2 separate regions of the Homo sapiens genome follow, and region 1 is linked to region 2. The links are contacts of gene promoters, found by promoter capture Hi-C in blood cells and fetal thymus (Javierre and others, 2016). All regions are on one chromosome and are shown on one strand. Each heading gives the region's core, a stretch centred on a gene start or on the middle of the fragment in contact. The rest is flanking DNA. Distances are from core to core; before and after follow the strand shown.

The links. The method cuts DNA at HindIII sites, captures the fragments that hold promoters and counts their contacts. A CHiCAGO score of 5 or more calls a contact.
Region 1: a contact is called between a fragment that was not itself captured here and the fragment with the promoter of VGF in region 2, in 1 of 17 cell types (endothelial precursors). The highest score is 5.0, in endothelial precursors.

The regions. Positions count from the first base shown.
Region 1 is chr7:101,300,550-101,306,399 of GRCh38, forward strand. It overlaps LNCPRESS1 (lncRNA p53 regulated and ESC associated 1), which reads left to right. Exons shown (of 2, transcript NR_146480.1): 2 at 220-797. Among named protein-coding and RNA genes, the nearest start is that of LNCPRESS1, 3.9 kb to the left of the region's middle. RefSeq lists enhancers at 1-58, 1,558-2,259, 2,260-2,962. The HindIII fragment of the contact is 3,228 bases long and covers 611-3,838 here.
Region 2 is chr7:101,161,291-101,167,066 of GRCh38, forward strand. VGF (VGF nerve growth factor inducible) reads right to left here and starts at 4,279. Exons shown (of 2, transcript NM_003378.4): 1 at 4,084-4,279; 2 at 1,219-3,573. The coding sequence starts at 3,553. The coding sequence ends at 1,706. RefSeq lists silencers at 1,448-1,537, 2,098-2,147, 2,308-2,447, 4,210-4,309. The HindIII fragment of the contact is 10,392 bases long and covers 1-5,776 here.

The DNA.
Region 1 (5,850 bases), core at 975-3,474, 140 kb after region 2:
GCAGGGCACCTAGACGCCCACGAAGAGACCCACAAATCGCTCCCCTGAACCCACTAACGCCAGGGCCAGTGTACACTGCTCTGGGGCTCAAGAACAGGCAAGCACAGTCTCCACTAATAACCACACCTTAAGTCACCCAAGTAATGTACAGAGCCTACACTTCTACCTCAAACCAAAGCCAAGATCCCCTACTTAACCACATCATATCTACATCTTCAGGAAGAAGTCCTCCCCTACAAAGCGAATTCACAAACGGAAGAAGTGACTGTTCCACAGGATGCGCAGATCTCAACGGAAGGACCCAGGAGACATGAAAAAGCAAGGAAATGTGACGCCTTCAGAAGAAACCAGTAATTCTCCAGCAACAGATCCCCATCCAAAAGAAATTCAGGAAAGCTCAAACAGAGAATTGAGCAGAGAATTGACCGGACTGATTGTAAAGAAGGTCATCAACATGGAAGAGTCTTTTGAACAACAACATAAAGAAATGAGGAAAAGAGGTGGGGAGATATATGAGATGATTACCTGCCAGAAAGAGGTTTTAAAATTCAACAGAAGAGTATTTCTGGAACTGAAGAAATCATTGGATGAAATACAAAGTACACTCAAAAGCTTCAATGATAGACTAGAACAAATAGAAGAAAAACTCTCAGGGCATAAAATCTGAAGCATTTTTCTCACTTTAAAGATTCATGGGTTGTACTCTGGCCATTAATGTGAACAAAACCTGCTGGGTTAGTTCTTATTCTGGGGTCTTGGGTAATCGTTAGAGCGAAATAAAAATAATTTCCCTTAGAGATGGTCGATTTTGCAAGATTAGTTATCATCCAGCAGTTAGGTAAAGATGATCTGATTCAGTTACTGAATCTGATCAGTACTGAATTCAGTAGGCACAGTAATCCTAACAGGTGAATGTAGCTGAAGTACATTGTCATGGTCAAGAAAAGCCACTCTCTCTAACAGATTGCCCACACAGCTACATGTCAGCCCTCCTCGCTGCAAACCTGACAAACACTGTAGCATTTTATTATTTATTTATTTATTATTTAGAGATGTGGTCTTTCTGTACCCAGGCTGGAATGCAGTAGTGCAATTTCACTGCAGCCTCCATTTTCCGAGCTCATGCAATTATCCAGTCTCAGTCTCCCAAGTAGCTGGGACTACAGGCATGAGCCATGAGGCCTGTCTAATTTTTTTTTTTTTTTTTTTTGGTCGGAGCTTTGCTCTTGTTGCTCAGGCTGGAGTGCAATGGCACGATCATGGCTCACTGCAACCTCCGCCTCCCAGGTTCGTGCCTCAGCCTCCAGATTAGCTGGGATTACAGGCACCCGCCACCACATCCAGCTAGTTTTTGTATTTCTAGTAGACATGGGGTTTCCCAATGTTGGTCAGGCTGGTCTTGAACTCCTGACCTCAGGTGATCCTCCCGCCTGGGCCTCCCAGAGTGCTGGGATTACAGGGGCTGAGCCACCATGCCCAGCCTCCTGGCTAATTTTTGAACCTTTTTGTAGAAACAGGGTTTCACCATGTTGCCTAGTCTGGTCTTGAACTCCTGAACTCAAAGTGGTCTGCCTGCCTCAGCCTCCCAAAGTGCTGTGATTGCAGGAGTGAACCACACTTTGCCAAGCACACCCTAGCATGTTAATTCATCATTCTTTTTTTTTGGAGACGGCGTTTTTGCTTTGCAGGAGCCGAGATCTCGCCACTGCACTCCAGGCTGGGCGACAGAGTTAGAATCCATCTCAAAAAAAAAAAAATTAAAATTAAAAGAAAAAAGCATCCAAAAATGCATACATCAACGTAAAGGATTTTTTTTTTTTTGGTGAGATGGAGTCTCGCTCTTGTCGCCCAGGCAGGAGTGCAGTGGCGCGATCTTGGCTCACTACAACATCCGCCTCCCGGGTTCAAGCGATTCTCGTTACTCAGCCTCCCAAGTAGCTGGGATTACAGGCGCCCGCGACCACGCCCGGCTGATATTTTTATTTTTAGTAGAGACGGGGTTTCCCCATGTTGGCCAGGCTGGTCTCGAACTCCCTACCTCAGGTGATCCACCCGCCTCGGCCTCCCAGAGTGCTGGAATTACAGGCGTGAGCCACCGTGCCCGGCCAAATAGTCTATTTATATTAGCAAACACACCTGTGTGCACACGGAGCTTGCGGACCAGTCTGGAAGGGGAGGGCGGGGCCGACCCGGACCCTCCAGGGAACGCCCTTGAGTAACTCGCGCACTTGGGACCCATTCCCACCTAGGACCATAGGCTCAAGATGGCCTGGTGGATGCCGCCGGCACGCGCCTCTCCTCTGGCGGGAACCGAAGGCGCCGGTAGGTTTTCACACTTGCAGCCGATCGGCTAAGAGAACGCGGGATTCAGCCGAGAAGCCACTGGGAGCCCGAGGAGCGGAGCAGAGGCACCCAGGCAGCCTGCGCGGAGAAATCGGATCGGCTAGGACGGCCTGCAGCCCCTGCGCGCGGGGAAAGGGTGAGTGAGAGACCCCGGGGGCTCCGCAGTCCCCCCACGGACTTCCACAGCCCCCTGACCCTCGTGGACCTCCAGAGTAGGGGGCAGCGGGCGAGAGATTCCCCAGCGGCGTTGCAGGAGCCCACGTGGAGCCCACGGGCTTCCCTGCCCTGAGCAGCTGCAGCTGCAGCCGCCGCCGCCCAGCTGAGGGCCAGGGAGGGAGCGGGGAGGCCAGAGGCTTTCATACGTCCGAAAAGACTAATAACCCCACCGCCACCGCGGGACTCAGACGCGAACCAACCGCTTGCCTGCTCTACCCCGCCTGAGCTTTCCTGGGGACCAGCCCTTCCCTGTCCGTCCTAGCCAGCGACCGAACCCCGGGGCCCTCAGGACAGTCCGCTGGTGGTTCTGCCTCCTGAGGACTTGCGCACGCGGGCCGGAGGCCTGGGGATTGGTGACTATTCTGCCTCTTCCGCCACCGTTGGCGGCTGAACACTCCTCCCCGGTGTCTGAGTTCAGGGGCCCAGCCTGCGGATAACACCTCAGGCTACCTACAGGCCCGGGGACTCGCGTGCCCGCCCAACCTGGTCAGCCACCACCAACACCAGCAGGGACCGCCTGGATTCCGGAGGGTTGCCCCCCCAACTGCAACTACCCTGCCCACATCACACCCACTGCCCCAACGCCTGAGATCAGCCACACCCCCAGCCAGTGGCTGCCACTACCAGCATTAGAGCAGGGCACCTAGAGACACACGAATCACTCCCCACAACCCGCTAATAACAGAGCCAGCATGCACTGCTCTGGGACTAAAGAATAGGTAAGATCAGGCCACCACTGGGGCCCAAATACTGGCCCACCTGGCCGCCTAGTCCCCAGCAACCACAGCCTCCACTAATAACCACACCCTAAGCCACCCAAGAAATCATACAGAGCCTACAGTACTACCCCAAATCAAAGCCAAAGTGCCCCAGCTAACCAACACCCTATCTACATTTTCAGGAAGAAGTCCTCCCCTACAAAGCGAGTTCACAAACTTGGAAGAAGCCACTTTCACAGGATGCACAGATCTCAACGGAAGGACACAGAAAACATGAAAAAGCAAGGAAATGGGGCGCCTCCAACGGAACCCAGTAATTCTCCAGCAGCAGATCCCCATCCAAAAGAAACAGAAGACATTTTGGAGAGAGAATTGAATATACATATTATACAGTTGTGGGCATAATACAAGCATCATTTGGAAAAGAACAGAGAAAAAAGATGGAAGGAGTTACCGTACTGCAGGAAAAAATTATCAACTCCAGTGATATTATTAAATACAACCTAACGACACTTCTGAAGCTGAAGAAATCACTGGATGAAATACAAAGTAAACTCAAAAGCTTCAGTGATAGACTAGAACAAGAAGAAGAAAGACTCTCAAAACTTGAAATCTGAAGCATGTTTCTTAAAGATTTAAAGGGTTATTATACTCTGGCCATTAATGTGAACGAAATCTGCTGGGTTAATTCTTATACTGGGGTCTTGGATAATCATTAAAGTGAAATGAGAATAATTTCTTTTTGAGATGATCAATTTTATGAGGTCGATTTTTTTTTTTTTTTTTTAATGAGACTGAGTCTTGCTCTGTCGCCCAGGCTGGAGTGCAGTGGCATGATTTCGGTTCACTGCAACCTCCGTCTCCCAGGTTCAAGAGATTCTCCTGCCTTAGCCTCCAGAGTAGCTGGGACTACAGGCGTGTACCACCACACCCAGCTTATTTTTGTATTTTTAGTAGAGATGGGGTTTCACCATGTTAGCCAAGGTGGTCTCAAACTCCTGACCTCAGGTGATCCACCCGCCTCGGCTTCCCAAAGGGCTGGGATTACAGGCATGAGCCACCGGGCTGGCTGAGATGGATTCTTGTTAGGCAGCAGTCATGGAAAGATGATTTGATTCAGTTGACATTAACAGTACGCACAGTAATCCTAACAGGTGAATGTAATTTAAGCTAAATTACCAGGCAATTGTCATAGTCTGGAAAACACACTCTGCCAGGTGAGGTGGCTCAGGCCTATAATCCCAGCACTTTTGGGAGGCCGAGGAGGGTGGATCACCTAGGGTCAGGAGTTCAAGACCAGCCTGGCCAACATGCTGAAACCCCGTCTCTATTAAAAATAGAAACAAAATTAGCCGGGCGTGGTGGCGGGCGCCTGTAGTCCCAGCTACCAGGAGGCTGAGGCAGGAGAATGGCATGAACCCAGGAGGCGGAGCTTGCAGTGAGCTGAGATCGCACCACTGCACTCAAGCCTGGATGACAGAGTGAGACCCCCGTCTCAAAAAATAAATAAATAAATAAACTTTTGGAGATAAATGCCAACAATCTTCCAAAATATCCTGGGTGAGCTGTACACCCATGCTGCTACAGTGTACTCACTAAAGTCAAAAGTTGGAAACACCTAAATAGCCAACAGATGAATGGATAAACAAAATGTGGTCTGGCCATATGATGGAATATTATTCTACCTTCTTAAGGAAAGAAGGTTTTTTGTTTTGTTTTCCAGACAGAGTCTCTCTTTGTCACCCAGGCTAGAGTACAGTGGCGAGACGTCGGCTCACTGCAACCTCCACCTCCCAGGTTCACACGATTCTTGTGCCTCGACCTCCTGAGTAGCTGGGATTACAGGTGTGCCCCACCATGTCTGGCTTATTTATTTATTTATTTAGAGATGGAGTTTCATTCTTGTTGCCCAGGCTGGAGTGCAATGGCGTGATCTCGGCTCACCGCAACCTCAAGCCTCCTGGGTTCAAGCAATTCTCCTGCCTCAGCCTTCCGAGTAGCTGGGATTACAGGCATGCGCCACCACGCCTGGCTAATTTTGTATTTTTAGTAGAGACGGTTTTGCCATGTTGGCCAGGCTGGTTTTGAACTCCTGGCCTCAGGTCATCCACTTGCCTTGGCCTCCCAAAGTGCTGGGATTATGGGCATGAGCCACCATGCTCACCTTAAAAAGGAAGGAAATTCTGACACATGCTGCAATCAGGTGAACCTTGAGATCATTAGGTTACCTGGAATAAACCAGTAACAAAAAAACAAATACCATATGATTCCCCTTGTATAAAGGACTTAGAGGAGGCAACATCAGAGACAAAAAATAGAATAGAATGGTGGTTGCCAGGGCCTGGGGGAAGGAGGAAAGGGGAGTTGTTCAATGGTTATAGAGTTTCAGTTAGGGATCATAGAAAGTTCTGGAGATGGATGGTGGTGATGGTTGCATAACAATGTGAGTGTATTTAATGCTACTGAACTGTATACTTCCAAATGGTTAGAATGGGCTGGTCCTGGTAAGGTGGGTGGATGGATTCAGCTCGCAAGTTTGAGACCAGTCTGGGGAGCATGGTGAAACCCCGTC
Region 2 (5,776 bases), core at 3,029-5,528:
GGCTCTGTGAAGGAAGGCAGGGCTGCTGGCATCATCGGGAGGCCAAGGGGATCCTGCCAGCCTTGGGAAGAAACGGAGAGCACGCAGTTAAATGAGAATTCCAGATACACAACAAATCATTTTAGGGATAAATGTGTTGCATGCAGTGTTTGGGACACATTTAACTCTAAAACTGCATCTGTTGTGTATCTGGAATTTCAGATTTCATTTCCTGTATTTTATCTGGCCACCCTACCTTAAACGGATTTTTATGCCCAATGCGTCTCCAAACGGGCTGCCCCCAACTCCCTGAGCTGCCTTTATGGAAGGAGGAGCAACTCTTCAGGATGCGGGTCTGTTGTGGGTGATTTCGTTTGCCCAGTTTAGTTTTATTTGAATCAGTTCACAAGTACCTGCGATTAGAAAAGGCTTAAGATGGGAGGCCAAGGTGGGGAGGTCGCTTGAGCCCAGGAGTTCCAGACCAGCTGAGCAAGCTGGCAAAACCTCATCCCTACAAAAAATGCAAACATTAGCTGGGCATAATGGTGCACACTTGTAGTCCCAGCTACTCAGGAGGTTGGGGTAGGAGGATCACTTGAGCCCAGGAAGTCGAGGTTGCAGTGAGCTGTGATTGCACCACTGCACTCCAGCCTGGGCAACATAGTGAGACCCTGTCTCAAAAAAAAAAAAAAAAAAAAAGTTAAGAAGTGGCTTTAGCCAGCATGTCTCTGTGGCTGCCACTCCCTCCTCCCCGCATTTCTTGCAAAGTACCTAGGACCAGGAATGTAGGGATCAGTGGAGGGAGGTGGGTGGGTGAACACAGGAAACTCCGGCATTACCCGCGCGGCCCCAGGATCTTGGGAAAAAGGAGCCCACTGGCACCCAGAGTTGTGGCACCTTCTGCGGGTCGCCTTTTTCTTTTGAACCAGAGGTCGCTGGACTGATCGCAGACAATTGGCTCTTTTATTGCATTCCGCTGGGCCTCTCTCTGTCAAGCCCTGGGGAAAGATGACTTTACCACCAGCCCCCAAGCTGGAAGTGGAATTTCGGGTTTCTTAATGGGTGCGAGCCACATTCTTCTCCTCTAAAAACAGTTTGAGGACTTTCCCCACTTACCCCTTGCCTTAGTTTGGGGGCAGGAAGCAGGAGGAGACGGGGACTGTGGCTGGCGCTTCCCTCACCGCCCCTTGGGAAGGACCACACAGGCCCAAGGGGACGGGTGAATAACCGAGAACAAAGTCCTAATAAAATAGTCACTTTTATTTCTTAGCAAAACTATTTCCTCCGTGAGGGGTATTTACAACAGAGAAAGGAAAGAAGGGGTCAATTCACAGCGACTTGGAGAGGCTGGAGGGGCTCGTGGGAGGCCCGAAGGGCTGGAGACAGACACACTTCACACAATTAACTGGAACTGCTTTTTCCGGTTTCCGACGGGGACGTCCCCAGAGGGACTTGATGGGGCCGGGGCCCCGCGTGGCAAGGGAACTCGCACAAACCACCCGCCCTCCTGGGCTGGCCCCCGGTCACCCGCGGGTGAGCTCTGGGAGTTCGGGCTCAGGACCCGGGAGGGGGGTCTGGCAGGTCCCGACGCAGCCCGGGGACAGGGGCAGGGCCAAGGGGCAGGGCCGGGGCGCATGCAAACACCGAGGGGGAGCGGGCAACACGGAGGGGGGCGCCGGCGCGCGCGCGCGGCGGGGGCGCGCGGGGGCGGGACCGGGAAGGGCAGTCACGGGCGCCGGAGCAGCACGTGCTCGATGTAATTCTCCAGCTCCTCCTGCTCCTGCAGCCGGCGCTCCTCCGCCTCCGCCTCCTCCTGCGCGCGCCGCGCCTGGGCCTCCCGGCCGGGATAGTGGCGCGAAGGCGGCAAGGCGTGGTGGTAGTGGCGGCGGCGCAAGGCCGAGGGCGGCTGCAGTGTCCGCGGCCGGATGTAGTTGGGGAAAGGGTGGTACGGCCCTGGCGGGTACACCTCGTCCTCCTCCCGATCCCAGGGCGGGAGCACCTCGTTCCAGTCCGGCAGCTCGTCTCGTGCGGGAGCGGGGGCGGGGGGCGGGGGCTGCGGGGAGCGGACGTGGGTGGGGGCGGGGGCGGCACGGGGGGGCGGCACGGGCTCGGGAGGGGCGTTCTTCTTCCGCTTCCGCTTCTCCTCCACCTCCTCGATGATGCTGACCACGTCGTCCGCTGGCAGGTGGAGTTTGGTGGACAGCTCAATGAGGCTGTCGATCGTCTGCGGATCCATCTCCTCGTCGTCCTCCTCCTCCCCGCCCTCCTCTGTCCCCTCGGCCTCCTTCCGCCGGTGGCCCGGCGTCTCCTCCTGGGAGCGCTTGTCCTCGGCGCCGGCTTCCCCGTCCTCCTCCTCCGCGAACAGGAGCGCGTTCTGCCGCGCCCTCTCCGCCTCCTCCGCCTCTGCCTCCGCCTCGGCCGCCTCCTCATCCTCTTCCCCCACCCTCTCCTCCCCGCCGCGTCTCTCCTGCTCCGCCTCCTCCTCCTCCCTTGCACTCTCTCGCTCCTCCGCCGCCTCCTGCAGCCCCCGACCCCCGAGGCCGCGCTGCCGGGCCCCGCCCTGCAGCAAATACTGGAGCAGCAGGTCCGAGGCGAGGTCGGCCAGCCGCTCTTCCTGCGCCGCGGCCTGCCGCGTGGCCTCCGCCTGCCGCCGCCCGGCCTCCACCTGCGCCAGCCCTTGCTGGAGAAGGCGCTCGCCCGCCTCGGAGCCGCCCAGGAGTGCGCTCTCCGGCCGGCGCGCCTTGGGGAACGGGGCGGCCACGCCTTGGTACGCCTTGGACAGGGGTGCCAATGCCTCGCCTAGGTGTGTTTTGGGGGAGGACACTCCTTCCCCGAACTTGTGGGTTTCGGGAAGGGGCCCGCTGTCGGGCATACGCGCCTGGAATTGAGAGGGGGCCGGGGGCGGCAGGGGCGCGCGCTCCGGGACACGCGCCTGGAACTCTCCCCAGGAAGCGCGCCATACGCGCTCTGGCCCCGGGCTCTCCAGATTCACTCGGGTCAGCGTGTGCGTGCGGGTTTCCGTCTCTGCTGCCGCCGTCTCCTGCTGGCGCTTGGCGCTACTTGGACTGAAATCTCGCAGTTCCTGGAGCAGGGACGCTAGCGCCTCGAGCTCCTCGGAGGGATCGCTCGCCTCGGGCCCATTCTCCGGAGTCTGAGGGCGAGGCGGAGCCGCGGGCTCCGGGCTCTCCGGCGCCGGGAGGCTGTGGGTCTGGCTGCGCACGGTCTCGGTCAGCAGAGCTTCAGCTGCTTCTTCCTCCGGCCCCTGCTGGGAGCCGCTTGGTGCCGGGGGTGAGGCGGGACGGTCGAGTGCCTGCAGCAGCACCGCGGCCAGCGCCCGGGGATCCACGCCCTGGAAAAGCTCTCCCTCGTCCTGCGGCTCGGAATTCCGAGCGCCTCGGACCTCTGGGGCGCTGCCATCCTTTGGCCCGGGCACTGCGTCCCCGGCTACCGGCTCTTTATGCTCAGAGCTGAGAGGAGGAGGCTGCGCCTCAGGGCGACCAGGGGGTGCTGCCCCTAACCCGTTGATCAGCAGAAGGCAGAAGAGGGCGGAAGCCGACAATCTGAGGGCTTTCATGACCAAGAGGCTGCCGGAGACTGAAAAATAGAAGGGACCAAAAAAAGAGGATTTCTGTAAGAATTCCCCTCTCTAGGTCTACGTTCCCTTCCCCCACCTTTCAGCAGGAAACCCGGGGCTTCCCTGATCCCCCAAACCTTACCCAGAAGAGGAACGTTTAGGAGCAAAGGAGGAAGATGTTGTGCCGATCTCTGGAGCCGTGTAAATGGGAAAATAACCCCCGAAGCCCTCGCTTACCCAGGGCCTCCTCGGCCCCTTCCCTGAGCCATCTCACTGCCATCGCCCACGTACTAAGCAGCAGCAATATGGGGGAAAAAAAAATCTCTGCTCCCTCCCCGTAGGACTCCCCGGATGGTGCGTGGGCGACTTCAGCAGCAAGAGAAAAAGCTGCGACTCCCCCGTTTACCGGGGACCCTTACCAGGGGGCTCCCCGCTGTGTTTGCAACACCCCCATCGAGAGGAGAGAGAACCCTCCCTCACGCCCACGGCTGGCTGCCGAGGGTTTGAGGGACGAACAGCGGAGTATTTACCAGCTGGTGTCACGACGCGAGAGGTGGAGAGGAGGGTCGGGGCAGGGTGGGGACAGGGGAAGATCGGGACGCGTCCGCCTCGGCTCCGAGCGGTGGCCGGGGTAGGAGCGACGGTCGAGGTCTGGCGTCCCGTGGGCTGGGCTCAGCTGGGTCGGCGCGGCTCCGGGCGGCTAGCTCGCTCCGGCTTCAGCACGCTGGACAGCGCCCGCGCCTCCACCGCCTTATAAAGGGGAGCGCGCGGGGTCACGTGGGCGCGCCCCGCCCCATTGACGTCAATGTTCATTCATGGGGAAGCGGGCGGCCGCCCGGAGGAGGAAGGACGCCCGACGATTGGAGGGTGCCTGCCTCTCCCGGCCTGCGCCTGCGCGCTGGGGCCTTCGGCTGAAGGGGTGTGCGCTAGCGGAGCTCCGGGAAATGAATGAATGAATGAATGAATGAAATGCTGAAGCGGGCAGGGCGGGGGGCTATGAATGAATGAAGGAGGGACGAGGAGAAAAGGATGAATGAATGAATGGGAGAATGAATGGAAGGGTGGATGCAGAGGCGCTGGAAGGCGGGAGGGTGGGTTGCAGAGCAACTTGGAGCTGCTGGATGGAGCCCGCGTTGCTGAGTGGAATAGAAAAAGGGTAGTCCCAGCGTCTGACTGGGCACCAGTGGGAGCTCAATACTGGGGAGGGGAAGGATAAAGATTCAAGAGCCGACCAGGGGGCCGGGTTCCCCACCCCGAGACCACGCGCCCAAGGACGGCGTGAACCTGAGTGCAGAGGGACAGATCTGCACGCCTGCGGGCGCTGTCCGCGAATCGGCAGTGCGGGTGGCAGCCCCCTGACAGGGGCAGATGGGTGGATCTTGCGGTTTTGGTAATCCCATCGGGAAGGGTCCGAGTCGGAAGAGAAAAGGGAAAGAATGAGGATGTGTGTGCCTCTGGGTCGTGTCTGTTTCACGATCCGTGCTGTGTCTGGAGAAAAAGGTGTGTCTGTCCTTCTGTCCCCTGACTGCCGCTTGTGTCAAGGCCCCCCGCTGTGCCCCCTTCGGCCCATCTCTTCCCACACTCCCCCAGTCGCTTTCCCTCCTGCCGCTCCCCTCCCCCAAGGACGTTTGGAGGGCGAGACCAGAGCAGGTGGGGAGGGGGTTGCGCAGGTGGGGGGGGGGTGACTCAACTCCAGCTCTCTCCACCGCTTAAAGGGAAGGTTTGAACGCGATGGGAGGGGGACCTGCAACGTCAGAGATAGCCCCTCTCTGCCACCAGCCCCTTCGACCGTATCTCCTGCCAGAGAGGTTGGGGCTGGGGGCTTGGACAGCTAGAGGTTCCGGGGGTGGGGGGCGATGACGCACAGATTTGCGCAAAGAGAATCCATCAGAGAGCTGGGTCCGGTGAAGGGAGACCAGCCGTGGGCGGGGGTGGGGGGGAGGACGGAAATGGGGAGGGGGCAGGGGAGAGGAGAGGGTGGCAAGGGGGGCAGCCACTGCAGGAATGAAGGGGAGGGAGGGAGGAAGCCTGGAGGGGGCTGCGGTGCTGGCAGAGAGCGGTGCGGGGGCGTGGGCAGGGAAGGGGGGAATGACAATGACACACGCCAGACACACACGAACTGCGGACATAGGGGTGCTCGTGGGCACACGCAGGGCACCCGCACCCTGAGACTCTGGAAACCAAGGTCAGGGCTGTCTGTCAGGGTCTTAGAGACTCTTTCAG